Regions from separate parts of the Homo sapiens genome. Here regions 1, 2 and 3 are each linked to region 4. The links are contacts of gene promoters, found by promoter capture Hi-C in human tissues and cell types (Jung and others, 2019). All regions are on one chromosome and are shown on one strand. The core of a region is centred on a gene start or on the middle of the fragment in contact, and the rest is flanking DNA. Distances in the headings are between cores, read along the strand shown.

Region 1 (3,147 bases), core at 509-3,008, 170 kb after region 4:
TAACTGCGGGTGGGCCTGACATCAGTCAGGCCCTCCACGAGAGGTGGTGGAGCAGAGTCTTCTCTAAACTCTCCCGGGGAGAGGGAGACTCCCTTTCCCGGTCTGCTAAGTAGCGGGTGCTTTTCCTTGGCACTGACGCTACCGCTAGACCACGGTCCGCTTGGCAACGGGTGTCTTCCCAGACGCTGGCGTTACCGCTAGACCAAGGAGCCCTCTGGTGGCCCTGTCTGGGCATGACAGAGGGCTCACACGTCTTCTGGTCACTTCTCACCATGCACCTTTAGCTCGTATCTCTGTATGGCCTGGTTTTTCTTAGGTTATGATTGTAGAGCAAGGATTATTATAACATTGGAATGAAGAGTAATTGCTACAAACTAATGATTAATGATATTCATATATAATCATATCTATGATCTAGATCTAGTATAATTCTTGTTATTTTATATATTTTATTACACTGGAACAGCTCGTGCCCTTGGTCTCTTGCCTTGGCACCTGAGTGGCTTGCTGCCCACAAAGACCAGCCTGGCCAACATGGTGAAACCCCATCTCTACTAAAAATACAAAAGATTAGCCAGGGGTGGTGGTGGGTGTCTGTAATCCCAGCTACTTGGGAGGCTGAGGAAGGAGAATTGCTTGAACCCAGGAGGCAGAGGTTGCAGTGAGGTGAGATCGCACCATTGCACTCCAGCCTGGGTGACAGAGCAACACTCTGTCTGAAAAAATATATATATATATATATTACGCCACACGGAAGAAGCCAGACACAAAAGGTCAAAAAATGTATCATCCTTTTCTATGAAATGCCCAGAATAGGCAAATCCATGGGGACAGTAAGTAGACTGGTGTTCGCCAGGGGCTTGGGGAGGGGAGAAGGGGGAGTGCCTGCTTAATAGATACAAAAAATTAGCCAGGTGTGGTGGCTTATGCCTGTAATCCCAGCTACTTGGGAGGCTGAGACGGGAGAATCACTTGAACCTGGGAGGCAGAGGTTGCAATGAGCTGAGATTGCACCATTGTACTCCAGCCTCGGCAACAAGAGTGAAACTCTGCCTCAAAAAAAAAAAAGAAAAAAGAAAATTTGAAGTTTTTAGCCTCCAGTGTGGCAGCGGATTCAGGCAGGCTCATAGACAGATGCTCAAGGCACTGGTGAAGGACCTGTGGGCCACAGCGCACTCCCACGGCCGCGGAGTTTTACCCCACAGATGGCTGATTAATTACAAAGACGGGAAGCTTGTGGACACCCCCTGGAGCAAGTGACCAACTCAATGCCACCAATAACGGGACAAACATATTTTGTGCTCGTGATACAACAGCACAGGAAAGACACACCACCACTGACACAGTGTTCTTCCCCCAAATATGTAACCTGACTCTACGCACGAGGAAACAATCGGACAAACTCAGATAGTGAGGCGTTCTCTAAGATAACCGGCCTGCACTCCTCAACAATGCCCATACGTGTGCAGGAAGGCTTATGTTGGAAAAAATAATAGTAAAAACAAGAAAATAAATAAAAATGCCAATATTGTGAAAGACCAACAAAAAATAAAATAAAAAGGGAGTGGAGTTGTTCTGAATGAGGAAAACTAGATACAGGACAGCCACGCACAGTGCATGATTCTATGTTGGATCCAAATCAAATCCTTTTTAAAAAAAAAAATATAGCAATAGGCCAGGCACGGTGGCTCATGTCTGTAATCCAAGCACTTTGGGAGGCCGAGGTGCATGGATCACGAAGTCAGGAGTTCGAGACCAGCCTAGCCAATATGGTGAAAACCTGTCTCTCCTAAAAATACAAAAATTAGCCAGGCGTGGTGGCGTGTCCCTGTAATCCCAGATACTCAGGAGGCTGAGGCAGAAGAATCGCTTGAACCCGGGAGACGGAGGTTGCAGTGAGCCAAGATTGCGTCACTGCACTCCAGCCTGGGCGACAGAGTGAGACTCTGTCTCAAAAAAAAAAAACAAAAAAACAAAAAAAAAAATCAGCAATAAAGGACATCTTAGGACCATTGCAGAATTGTAACTATGGATGATATATTAGCTCGTGTTATTATATCAAGTTTAGATGTGATAATAGTGTTGTGATCATGTAGAAAAATGTCCTTATTCCAGCCGGGCGCGGTGGCTCACGCCTGTCATCCCAGCACTTCGGGAGGCCGAGGCGGGTGGATCACGAGGTCAGGAGATCGAGACCATCCTGGCTAACACGGTGAAACCCCGTCTCTACTAAAAAAATACAGAAAAATTAATCGGGCGTGGTGGCGGGCGCCTGTAGTCCCAGCTACTCCAGAGCCTGAGGCAGGAGAATGGCGTGAACCCGGGAGGCGGAGCTTGCAGTGAGTAGAGATCGCGCCACTGCACTCCAGCCTGGGAGACAGAGCGAGACTCCGTCTCAAAAAAAAAAAAAGGAAGAAAAATGTCCTTATTCCATAGAGATACATGGTGAAGTGTTTGGGAGTGGAATAGCATGACACCATAGCATACTTTCAGATTGCTCAATGAAAACTGAACACGTAGACAGAGGAGCTCATGACAGCCTGGGCAACATCACGAGACCCCGTCTCTAAAAAAAGAAAAAAAGAAACAAGGGAGTGCAATGTGGTGAGATTGGTGAATCTGGGCAATGGCTATTTAGATATTCCTTGTACTATTTCAACTTTTCTTTAAACTTAAAATTTTCAAAATAAAAATTTGGATAAGAAACAGGCCAGGCGCGGTGGCTTATACCTGTAATCCTAGCACTTTGGGAGGCTGAGGTGGGTGGACCACCTGAGGTCAGGAGTTTGAGACGAGCCTGGCCAACATGGCGAAAACCTGTCTCTATTAAAAGTACAAAAATTAGCCACATGTGATGACACATGCCTTTAATCCCAGCTCCCCAGGAGGCTGAGGCAGGAGAATCTCTGGATCCAGGGCAGCGGAGGCTGCAGTGAGCAGAGATTGTGCCACTGCAGTCCAGCCTGGGCGACAGAGTGAGACTCCATCTCAAAAGAAAACAAAAACAAAAATTAGCTGGGCCTGGTGGCAGGTGCCTGTAATCCCAGCTACTCAGGAGGCTGAGGCAAGAGAGTCACTGGAACCCTGGAGGCGGAGGTTGCAGTGAGCAGAGATTGTGCCACTGCACTCCAGCCTGGGTGACAGAGC
Region 2 (3,132 bases), core at 362-2,861, 140 kb before region 4:
CGCCACTGCACTCCAGCCTGGGTGACAAAGTGAGACCCTGTCTCAAAAAAAAAAAAAAAAAAGAAAGAAAGAAAGAAAGAAAGAAAAAATCACCAGCCTAGTGCCTGGTAGTCCAAATCTTACTTGCCACCAGCATGACCTGTCCTCAGAGACAAGAGGAGGACAGCATCCTGGAGGCTTGGGGAGATAGGGATAGGTGTCCCCGCAGCCACGGGAAACAACTGCCTCCATTTCCTACTTGTCAGATGAGCACAGTTGGTGCTACCCACCTCGAGGGCCACAGTGAGGACCAGATGAGATAAGTGCTGTGTAAGCCACAAGACTCTGTCCACACAGACGTTCACTGTGCCATACAGACGGCTGGTTCCTCTAGGGAATTACTTCCCCTCCACTCCTTGCAGTTCTGTGGGGCTGCCAAGGCCTGACTCCCCCATCCTCTGGGCTCAGGGCAAGGAGCAACTGCAGGCTAGGCCAGCAGGAGTGTTCTTCCCAGGTTGTATGCACAGGGATGGAAGGCGGTTAATACGGAATCATTTGGGCCATGGGGCCCCCTAAAAAACGTTGTCCTGATCTTGTTCCTGACATGCCTGGAGCTACTCTGGTTTTTGTCCTGCCGGGCAGGTCAGATTAATCACTGAGTCTGATGCACCTGGCACCATCAAACAGCAAAACCAAAACCAACTCTTTCCTTATGTAAGTCAATCAGAGTTTCTGTTGACTGCATTCAAGGAAGCCCAGCCAATTCAGGAGGAAATGCCGTTTTATTTCAAAAGCACAGGCACAGTTCGTACATTTGCCGAGGGAGGTAAAGGAAGGTGTCAGCTGAGACTGCTCAAGTGCACCCTGCTTCAACGGCCTCTTAACTGGTCTTTCCCCATCAGTCTCGCTTGCCCCCAAAGCCTTCAGGAATACACTGCATTCCAGAATAAATCAATTTATTCCAGATTCATCTCCAGAAAACACTTTTTGGGGAACAGGTGACTAGCAGTAGGTAGTGGGGGAGGTGGCATCTGTTGGTCCTGCTCCCCCTCCAGGTAGGAATTCCCATCACCCACCTCACGATGGATGTGGTAGCAGTGAATAGCCTAGAGATTTGCCATCTCATAAAATTCCAACTTTTAATAGTAAATGCCAAATGCAGGCATTATGTTAAAAGTATGATTAACCCCATGGCCCATGGCAATCTGATTCTGAATCAAATCACCTACCACTGGCCCTGTAAGTAAGCACCAGCTTCTGTGAGTTCCTGTGTCGCTGAAGAAAGGTAACAAGTAGGCACCTAGATCCACGTGTCTGAATTAGCGGGGGTGGATGGGTGTTAGTGGTAGTAAATAAACAGGGCATATGAAATGTGATTCTTGCCTTGAATTGAGCCCCTAAACTCTCTCATCAGTCTATTAGGACAGAAGCTCCATGGGAAAGCAGGCGAGGTCGACCATCACTGTGAAATACATGCCTGCCTTCTCAGGTGGAAGGAACTCATCTGTGTGGCCTGTTTGCCTGGAATCCTGTTCCCTCTGCTCATTCCCTTCAATGCCAAATCCCACCCTCATTATGAAATGGGAGCTCAATGACCCAGAAATAATTTGAACAAACCTATTTCACTGAGGATGCATTCATTTTTATCTTCATTAACTCTCTGGGGCCCTGTCAGGTATGCTGAGAGCAGGGTTTATGTTTCAACTGCTAGGTCTGGGGTATCTTAAAATCTGGGCAATTTGTACATTTAACTGAGGCAGACTTTTTTTTTTTTTTGAGACAGAGTCTCGCTCTTTTGCCCAGGCTGGAGTGCAATGGCGCGATCTCAGCTCACTGCAACCTCTGGAGGCAGACGATATTTTGTGTTCTGTAGACAGATGTATTTTATATGAAGAAAACTGTTTCCCTTTTCTATGAAAAAAACATCGCATTATCTCCTTTTCTTTATGTTTTAACTGAAAGAAATTTTTTAAATATTATGTTATCCAGGTGAATGTCACTAATTTGTTTCCCCCACAAACGAAGTAACAAACATTTAACAAGCCCAGATCTTTTCCTGTCTTAAGACCAAAACACGCACGCACACACAATGCTCCCCGAAGATGAACGGCTGGAGTAAACAGTAACTCATCCTGGGTGACTGGCTATTTATAAGATTTCACACAAGTAAAATGCTAAAATATGGGGAGTTCACACTAGGCTCCAAAGCAGCAACAGCAGAATAGATGGAAAAAATACCCAGTCCTGAACCTTACCTCCCTGACGCCCATCGAAACCATCATTCTTATTCAATAAACTCTGCTTTTTATAAAATGTGGTGGTTCCTCAAAAATCTGTGTTCAGGGAAGTATTCTTCAAGCACATACAAGTATTATTACACAGACCACTAGAAAAGCTTCTCATCATTGAGGTCTCTATGCCTTCCTAATTAATAACATAATTTAGCATTTCTATCCCACTGTATTTCCAAAACACACCTGTCTTCGGTGAATTCATGCAAATACAAACATCTTCTAGGAGATTATGAGGCGATGTGTTCAGAGCAAACCATAATCAGAAACAGCAAAACCAGAAGTCATCAGTCTCAGAACACTTTCTTCAAATACATAATATTCTGGTTTTATATTAAGAGAGTGTTTTCTTTTTTTTTCTTTTTTTTTTTGAGAAGGAGTCTTGCTCTGTCACCCAGGCTGGAGAGTGCAGTGGAGTGATCTCGGCTCACTGCAAGCTCCGCCTCCCAGGTTCATGCCATTCTCCTGCCTCAGCCTCCCCAGCAGCTGGGACTACAGGCACCCACCACCACACCCGGCTAATATTTTGTATTTTTAGTAGAGATGGGGTTTCACTGTGTTAGCCAGGATGGTCTCGATCTCCTGACCTCGTGATCCGCCCGCCTCAGCCTCCCAAAGTGCTGGGATTACAGGCGTGAGTCACCGCGCCTGGCGAGAGTGTTTTCTTTAGCAGGATCCAACAGTTGAGCATCACTATTGTCTACTATACTCCTTTGGGGAAAATAGAAAACAGATTCGCCAAAACATTGGGAGGTTGCATTAAGTGACTTAAGGTGAAATGGTCTTACAGTGTCTTTCCTCTCTGGTTAAGTCTTACATGGGGTCTGAAATTTTGTTCAAAAGCAAGGTTTCAATGTGCAGA
Region 3 (3,140 bases), core at 227-2,726, 190 kb before region 4:
TTATCAGAAAGTTATCAATACTTCATTTCAAAAAACAGTGGAATCGATTCAAAATTATCTAAATAAAACTCGTAAGCCACACGAGGTTCCAACTTTTAGAACCTCTATTTAGTAGCTTCGTCTTGCAAGGTGAACAGGTGATAGGCCTATCAGTTTGGGTAGAATGCTGCAAACCAGCTATGGTGACGGATCTCTCCATGTTGTTACCCACATTTTCCAAACCATAAACTTCTATGTGGTCACCCTCTCAAATCTGCTGACCCTCCCCAGAGAATAAGAGTGAACAAGAGCCTCACCCAAGAACACAGTGTTACAGGTCTATTATTCTTCAACTTTTCACTTTCAATCAGGACATGCATTTGTTACTAAAAAACTGCTGAAAGCACAATTTCAGGGAATCCTCTGCATATGAATTAAACTGGATTCCCCTTTCCCTGGCTTTCACCCTTCCCCCTAGAAGTAACAAGAGGCCATTTTTCTGAAGGTCATCTGAACAATTTCAAAGGCTATAACAAATCAAAATGTTCCCTGCATCTGATATCAAACAGGGCTGATGCCAACACTTATTAGAGAAATCAGATTCAGCTCCCCACCCCCTCGACCCACATGCACACACACAGCCAACTTTGAAGTGGGAAGAATGCAGGGATCAGAAATTACCCTGGAGACAGCTCTGGCTGTCTTTGAAGGTTTCCTTTGATACCACCATTTCTTTTCCTCTCTTATGCTCGGAGGCTAAAAGCTGCCTTTTTTATTGATATGGGGTAATTAATGAAGCTATAGCATTAACATAACCTAAATCCCCCAAAAAGTTAAATTCGAACGAGACACATTTTTTTTTCAGTTAAGTCTGACTGGTATAAAATCAGGACAATGGCCAGGTATTCATCTTCAATCCTGCCTTTTAACATGCTGAGTCGTGGCTCTTGCTACTCCCTGAGTACAATGAATAAGTGGTTGGTAAGTCTGAAAAGCATTTTTATTTTATTAGAGGAATCAGGCTATTGGTCCTTGGTATCAAAAATATGCATTGCAGGTAAAGAGACAGGATGCTAGGGTCATGGCGGTGGTTGTTAGAGCAAAGTGCAAAGTGCAAAGTGATAGCCTTGCTGGGCTGGATTCTGATGGGGAAAAAACCTGCAAGGTCTGGAAATTAGGGGTGGTGCTGGGCCACTACAGCAGCAAGAAGGATAATGAAACTTTCGAATGTGCTGGTTGCTTTGGGCTTGGAGGACAGAGACAACCGCAGAGGCAGAAGTTAAGCCCATAGGAGGCTTCCTGAGCCACACCCAGGGCCTCTGTGGCTGTGCTCCAGGAGACTGCAGCAAAACACCCCCCTGCAGCCACCTAGGCACCAACTCAGCAAACGCAGGCTGCGTCCCGGGAGCAGCGACGTCTCCAGCAACAACGTGCTCTTGTAGAACACATGTCAGGCCCCAAGGGCTCCTTCCAGACGCCACATTTCATTTGGGATGTGCCAGACAATTCAACACATTAATTGCACTAATGCCTAGATTGTATATAAATAAAGTACACACACACAGAGTACTCAAAATAGAGCACTAATAATGTCTGCATGGTTTATTTTTATCATTTGTGAAGTGCTCTGAAAAAAAGGGGCTAATCAAATTGGCTAGGATGAGATTCTGAGTGGAACAGTCATTTGAGAGCTTCTCTGCCAAATGTGGTCAGTGTGTCCTTAAAATAACAAAGAGGCCTGGTTCTCTCGGTCTTGCAATTTCCACTTTTAGGGTCCCTGCTTAAGCACTGCTTGGGCCAACGCATACAGTTGTAAAGGGGGACGCAAGGCTTCCTGTCCAACCACATTTCTGATGTCAACCAGGGTCCCAAATGTACAGCCATTTTCCTTCGGAGAAAGAGAGAGGCCGGGCTAATCTCTCATCAGGAGGGCCTGAGGTCTCCCTTTACTCGTGTGTCTCCTTTATCCTCTGACTTATTTACAACTTCAATTACTGCCGCTCCTTTTAGTCCCCATTTCTCATTTTTGATTCTCCACTTTCCATTCCAGCTTAAGCATTTTCATATCCCAAGTAGGCTTTTTCATCATCTCCTCCCAGACAGGACTGGGCTCCTACCGTGCTCCTGGCACAGAAGTGCACCCTACAGACAGACAGTCACACGATGGAGCCTGTGCCCTTGAGGAGCTCCTGGTAGATGCAGGATTGAGATCCAGCCCTGTGTGGCTGTGGGCAACGTTACCATTCTAGGTCTCAGTTTCTCCATGTGTAAGATGAGTCTAAGAGCAGCACCTGTCTCATGATGCTGTGAGGAGGATTCGACAGCCACCGTGGGCAAAGTTCGCTTTGTGCAGTGCCTGCCTGACCAACGTATGTTAGTATTGTTAGTATTTTTATTAATTGCAAGATGGACATGTAAATAATCATGATGCACCAATTCTAGTACTAGGAAAAGATTGTTCTGAATTCTATGGGTGTATGGATAATGATGATAACTCTGTGCTGTAAGGAGAGGCAAACCCAGGTCGGCCATCTCTAGAGCCCATGTTCATAAGCAAAGAGGCTCTTGGGAAAATGGAGACAGGATGGGAAGGAAGATGGCATTCAGCCACTGTAAAGGGAAGAGTAAAACTTTGTCAGCTGGACTAGGAGGGATCCCAGGGCAAAAGGCACAAAACGTGCAAATACGTGAAAGAGTCTGGCATGTCATGGAAGCTACAGGGAGCACGCGGCTGGAGATAAGATGAGGTGTGTGTAGAGAATGATGCCAGATGAAGTCAGAAAGGAAGGCAGAGGCTGCGCCATGAGGCATTTAGACGCCTTGCAGAGGAGTCTGGATTTTATGCTACAAGCCAGAGTTTTCAGAAGTATATTCTACAAAATGGCAATGTCACAATATGCTCTAAGAATAAAAGAAGATAAAAAGAATTTGGTGGCCAAATAAGTTAGGAAAATATTGCATACTCTCTACTCCCTGTAAGATATTCATAAGGCACATCAGCAAACTGGTTTCCACAGTAAAGAAACCCACTGAACTTTCTCTAACCCAGAGTTTCTCAAACTTGTTTGACCATGCATTGCTTTCTGCCTAACATCTATTAATATCCTACTTTCCTACTTTGGGGAGGGCTGCTTTGGGCAAGGGGGAGATGGCAAAAAGAA
Region 4 (3,130 bases), core at 346-2,845:
CCACATTCATTTTGGAATCATCAGCCACCTTCTTCTTGGCACTACTGTACAAAGATTTAAGAAGGCAAAAGGATAATGTCAGCACTCTTAAAGTTTCTATTTAAAATGGTGAAGGGTTATAATATCCTGAACATTACAAAGGGAAGTAACTCGGAGAGAAAATGGAAAGAAAACAGAAGATAGGGAAGAATAGCCAGTGCATCCCCTGAAGCAGAGAAAGTATTAACTGGTGCTCGGCGCGGTGCCAGAGAACAGCAAGCGGATGTGGGCGTTGAGGAGGGCTGTGTGATTTACGGCAACTACTTAGGGGGAAAACAAAAAGGCACCCATCATTTGGCCACCTCCTCCTCCTCCTCCTCCATCCTACCTCCTCTTTCCATCTGGTTACTAAGGAGACCAAGTTGAAAAAACAAAAATCCAACCAGTCCAGAAATCAAAGGATGACTAGCTCACCAAATGCTTTCCCCTACTCAGGTCAGTTCTGAGAAGTAAAAGGCAAAAATCCTGAAATTCTAACCTTCCTGGGAAGGACTGACTCTCTTATAAAACAGAAGGCAAGTTCAGGACCTAAGCAATCAAGAAGTGCCTACTATGTGCCAGGCCCTTTACAAACATCCTCTCATTTAATTCTTACAACACTTAAAAAGTGTAAGTGAAGAAGGTACTTTGTAAGGAAGAGGAGGAAAAGTGGAATCCTTAACCCTAAAAGACTACAAATTAAGAAGCAGGGGCGTTAAGCATAAGTAATTAAACTGGTTAAGAGATTAGAGAGTAGGTCTCTACTGCGGAAGGAACTCCCACAGGAGTGGGAGTGAGGAAACTGATCAGGTGGTTTGGGAGCGGTTAGGGGAAAAGGTGAAGACAGCTCAAGGCCTGGCCGGTCCGTCGTGGTTGCGGGTGGGTGGTGGTGGAACTGATGAAGTCCAAGTTCAGGGCCGGGGAATTGGGGCTAATCAGATCGGGTGCACTTGGGTTTGGAGCCGACTGACCAGGTCCTGTCTGTACTATTACTACATTCGGATCAGACGTGATGGGGCACAGAGGGCCTACAGGTGAGAAACCTGCCAAGCTCAGAGAAGTGGAAGTTCATGGGAAAAGCATGCCTCCTTGTTAGGAATGGAACCGCCACAGAAGAGGTCGAGGATGGCGGAAGACAAACAGGACCAGGAGGCCAGGAGAAGCAAGACGAGAAAGCGGGGATGGTGTTAAGATGTCCCTGAGGGACAGGCAGAGGCTTGGAGAACAAGAAGAGAAAGAACAGGGATCAAGGGAAACGGAGAACAGCCCCTGCCTGGGAAGACTCGAGCGACGTAGGGGCAGGGTCGGAGCGGGGCCGGTCCCCGACCCCGGCCCCTTCAGCCGGTACCTACTTGAGGTCCCGGTTGACCGAATGTAAGTTGTCCTGGAAGTGCGCAATAAAGGCCTTCTCCCGGCCCTCCAGCGTCTCCTTGTTCCGCATCCCATCCTTCAGGCAGTCGAACACCCTGCTCACGCTGGAGCGCAGCGCCTGGATGGCACTAATGGCCTGGGAAAAGGCCTCCAGGTTCACACTGACATTTATCACGTCCGCCATGTTGCCGCCGCCACAGCAGCTCTCCAAAGCCGGCTTCGCAAGCAAAAAAGCCGCGCTCGCTGATGACGTATCTCCGAAGACCTCTGGGAAATGCAGTTCGCGCGGGGCTACCCAGAAAGCACTTTCGAAAAAGGGTTTCCCCTTGAGCTAAACTAATGCATGGGCAGGAAAGTGATTTTTCTCAACTTGGGGAAGTCAGGTTGCACTCCCGGTTTGCTTAATGGTGACAAAGAAATACAGAAAGTTCCCGCATTTCCCCAAACTTGCACTCTGGGGAATCATAGGGAAAAGAATTGCTCAGAGCAATAGTGTAAAAAGGAAAGGAACATAGCCCATTCAATAAAATGAGTCCATATTCATAAATAAAGCGGGGAGAAGGAAAGTTTCTTCTTTCCAATAGAATGCCAGCTCATAAATGCAGAAAGAGTGATGGAATTAGAAAATTGCCATTTGACAGCCATTAGAATAATTGATTCAGATAGAAATCGATGGATGCTAAAACTAGTGGGTGAAAGTGTCAGAAAAATAACAGGCTTTTTAGGTAATCTCAAAGTATCGTCCCCCAAGATGCTTATTAATTAAGAAGAGGAAAATAATGATCCAGAGATTCCACTTCTGGGCATATACCCAAAAGAAGCGAAAGCAGGGACTCAATACCTGTACACATGTTCATAACAGCATTATTCACCAAATAGCCAAAAGGCAGGGGAAACCCAAGTGTCCATAAACTGATGAATAAACAAAGTGTGATACTGGCATACAATGAAAAATTCTTCAGGCTTAAGCAAGAAAATTCTGACATATGCTACCTGGAGGAAACTTGAAGACATTATGCTAAGTGAAATAAGCCAGTCACAAAAAAACAAAATTCTGTGTGACTCCACTTATATGAGGTGTTTAGGGTAGTCAAAATGTTAGAGACAGAAAGTAGAATGGTGGCTGGTTTACAGTGAACACACACCTCTGAAAATAACATACATAGCATAGAGGTTGTGGAAGAAAGAGAAGGTTTGGGATTTAAATAAAACCAACAAAATGTTGGCCAAATCTGGCTTTATGGAAAAATTCAATGTCTCTTTGTCCTGTTGGCTATAGACAGGTTTCTGAAAATTTATTATCTTTTTACTAAAGGGAACCTGCCCAAGTCCTCATGTTCTTTCCTTAGAGGAGCTGGGGTTGCATAGCTTGGAGCAGAGAAGAGGAGAGCAGGAGGCAGATCATGATTGTGACCTTCAACTCACCTTCATGTCAACCCAAGACAAGAGTCCTCCTTGGTTAACTAGTGGCAATAACAATAACCAGTTGTAGGAAGGCTGTAGAGAGGAAGATTTCAGCATAATATTGCAAAGGGCCATATTTAAGTCTGTACTTAAAGAGTACAGACTTGGAAAAGTTTTACAGCTGGATGGTGGTGATGGCCATACAACAATGTGATTGTACTTAATGCCACAGAACTGGACACTTAGAAACAGTGAAAATGGTTGATTTTATATTATGTATATTTTACCAAAAAATTTTAAACAATTCATTAATGTAAACATAAGGGGGGATGGATAG

Evidence for each region. Contacts are between HindIII fragments. The study calls those that stand out against the background at their distance.
Region 1: a fragment that was not itself captured here is called in contact with the fragment with the promoter of MED27 in region 4 in 1 of the 25 tissues and cell types used here (IMR-90 fibroblasts).
Region 2: a contact is called between a fragment that was not itself captured here and the fragment with the promoter of MED27 in region 4, in 2 of the 25 tissues and cell types used here (hippocampus and lymphoblastoid cells).
Region 3: a fragment that was not itself captured here is called in contact with the fragment with the promoter of MED27 in region 4 in 1 of the 25 tissues and cell types used here (dorsolateral prefrontal cortex).

What each region holds. Positions count from the first base shown.
Region 1 is chr9:132,252,576-132,255,722 of GRCh38, forward strand. No RefSeq gene overlaps it. Among named protein-coding and RNA genes, the nearest start is that of NTNG2, 92 kb to the left of the region's middle. The HindIII fragment of the contact is 6,941 bases long and covers 1-3,147 here.
Region 2 is chr9:131,936,089-131,939,220 of GRCh38, forward strand. The region is part of intron 4 of MED27 (mediator complex subunit 27); the gene reads right to left. Among named protein-coding and RNA genes, the nearest start is that of MED27, 140 kb to the right of the region's middle. The HindIII fragment of the contact is 5,314 bases long and covers 1-3,132 here.
Region 3 is chr9:131,888,559-131,891,698 of GRCh38, forward strand. All of the region lies in intron 5 of MED27 (mediator complex subunit 27), which reads right to left. Among named protein-coding and RNA genes, the nearest start is that of RAPGEF1, 150 kb to the left of the region's middle. RefSeq lists an enhancer at 822-1,353. The HindIII fragment of the contact is 5,573 bases long and covers 1-3,140 here.
Region 4 is chr9:132,078,272-132,081,401 of GRCh38, forward strand. MED27 (mediator complex subunit 27) reads right to left here and starts at 1,596. Exons shown (of 8, transcript NM_004269.4): 1 at 1,371-1,596. The coding sequence starts at 1,573. RefSeq lists an enhancer at 1,493-1,772. The HindIII fragment of the contact is 14,332 bases long and covers 1-3,130 here.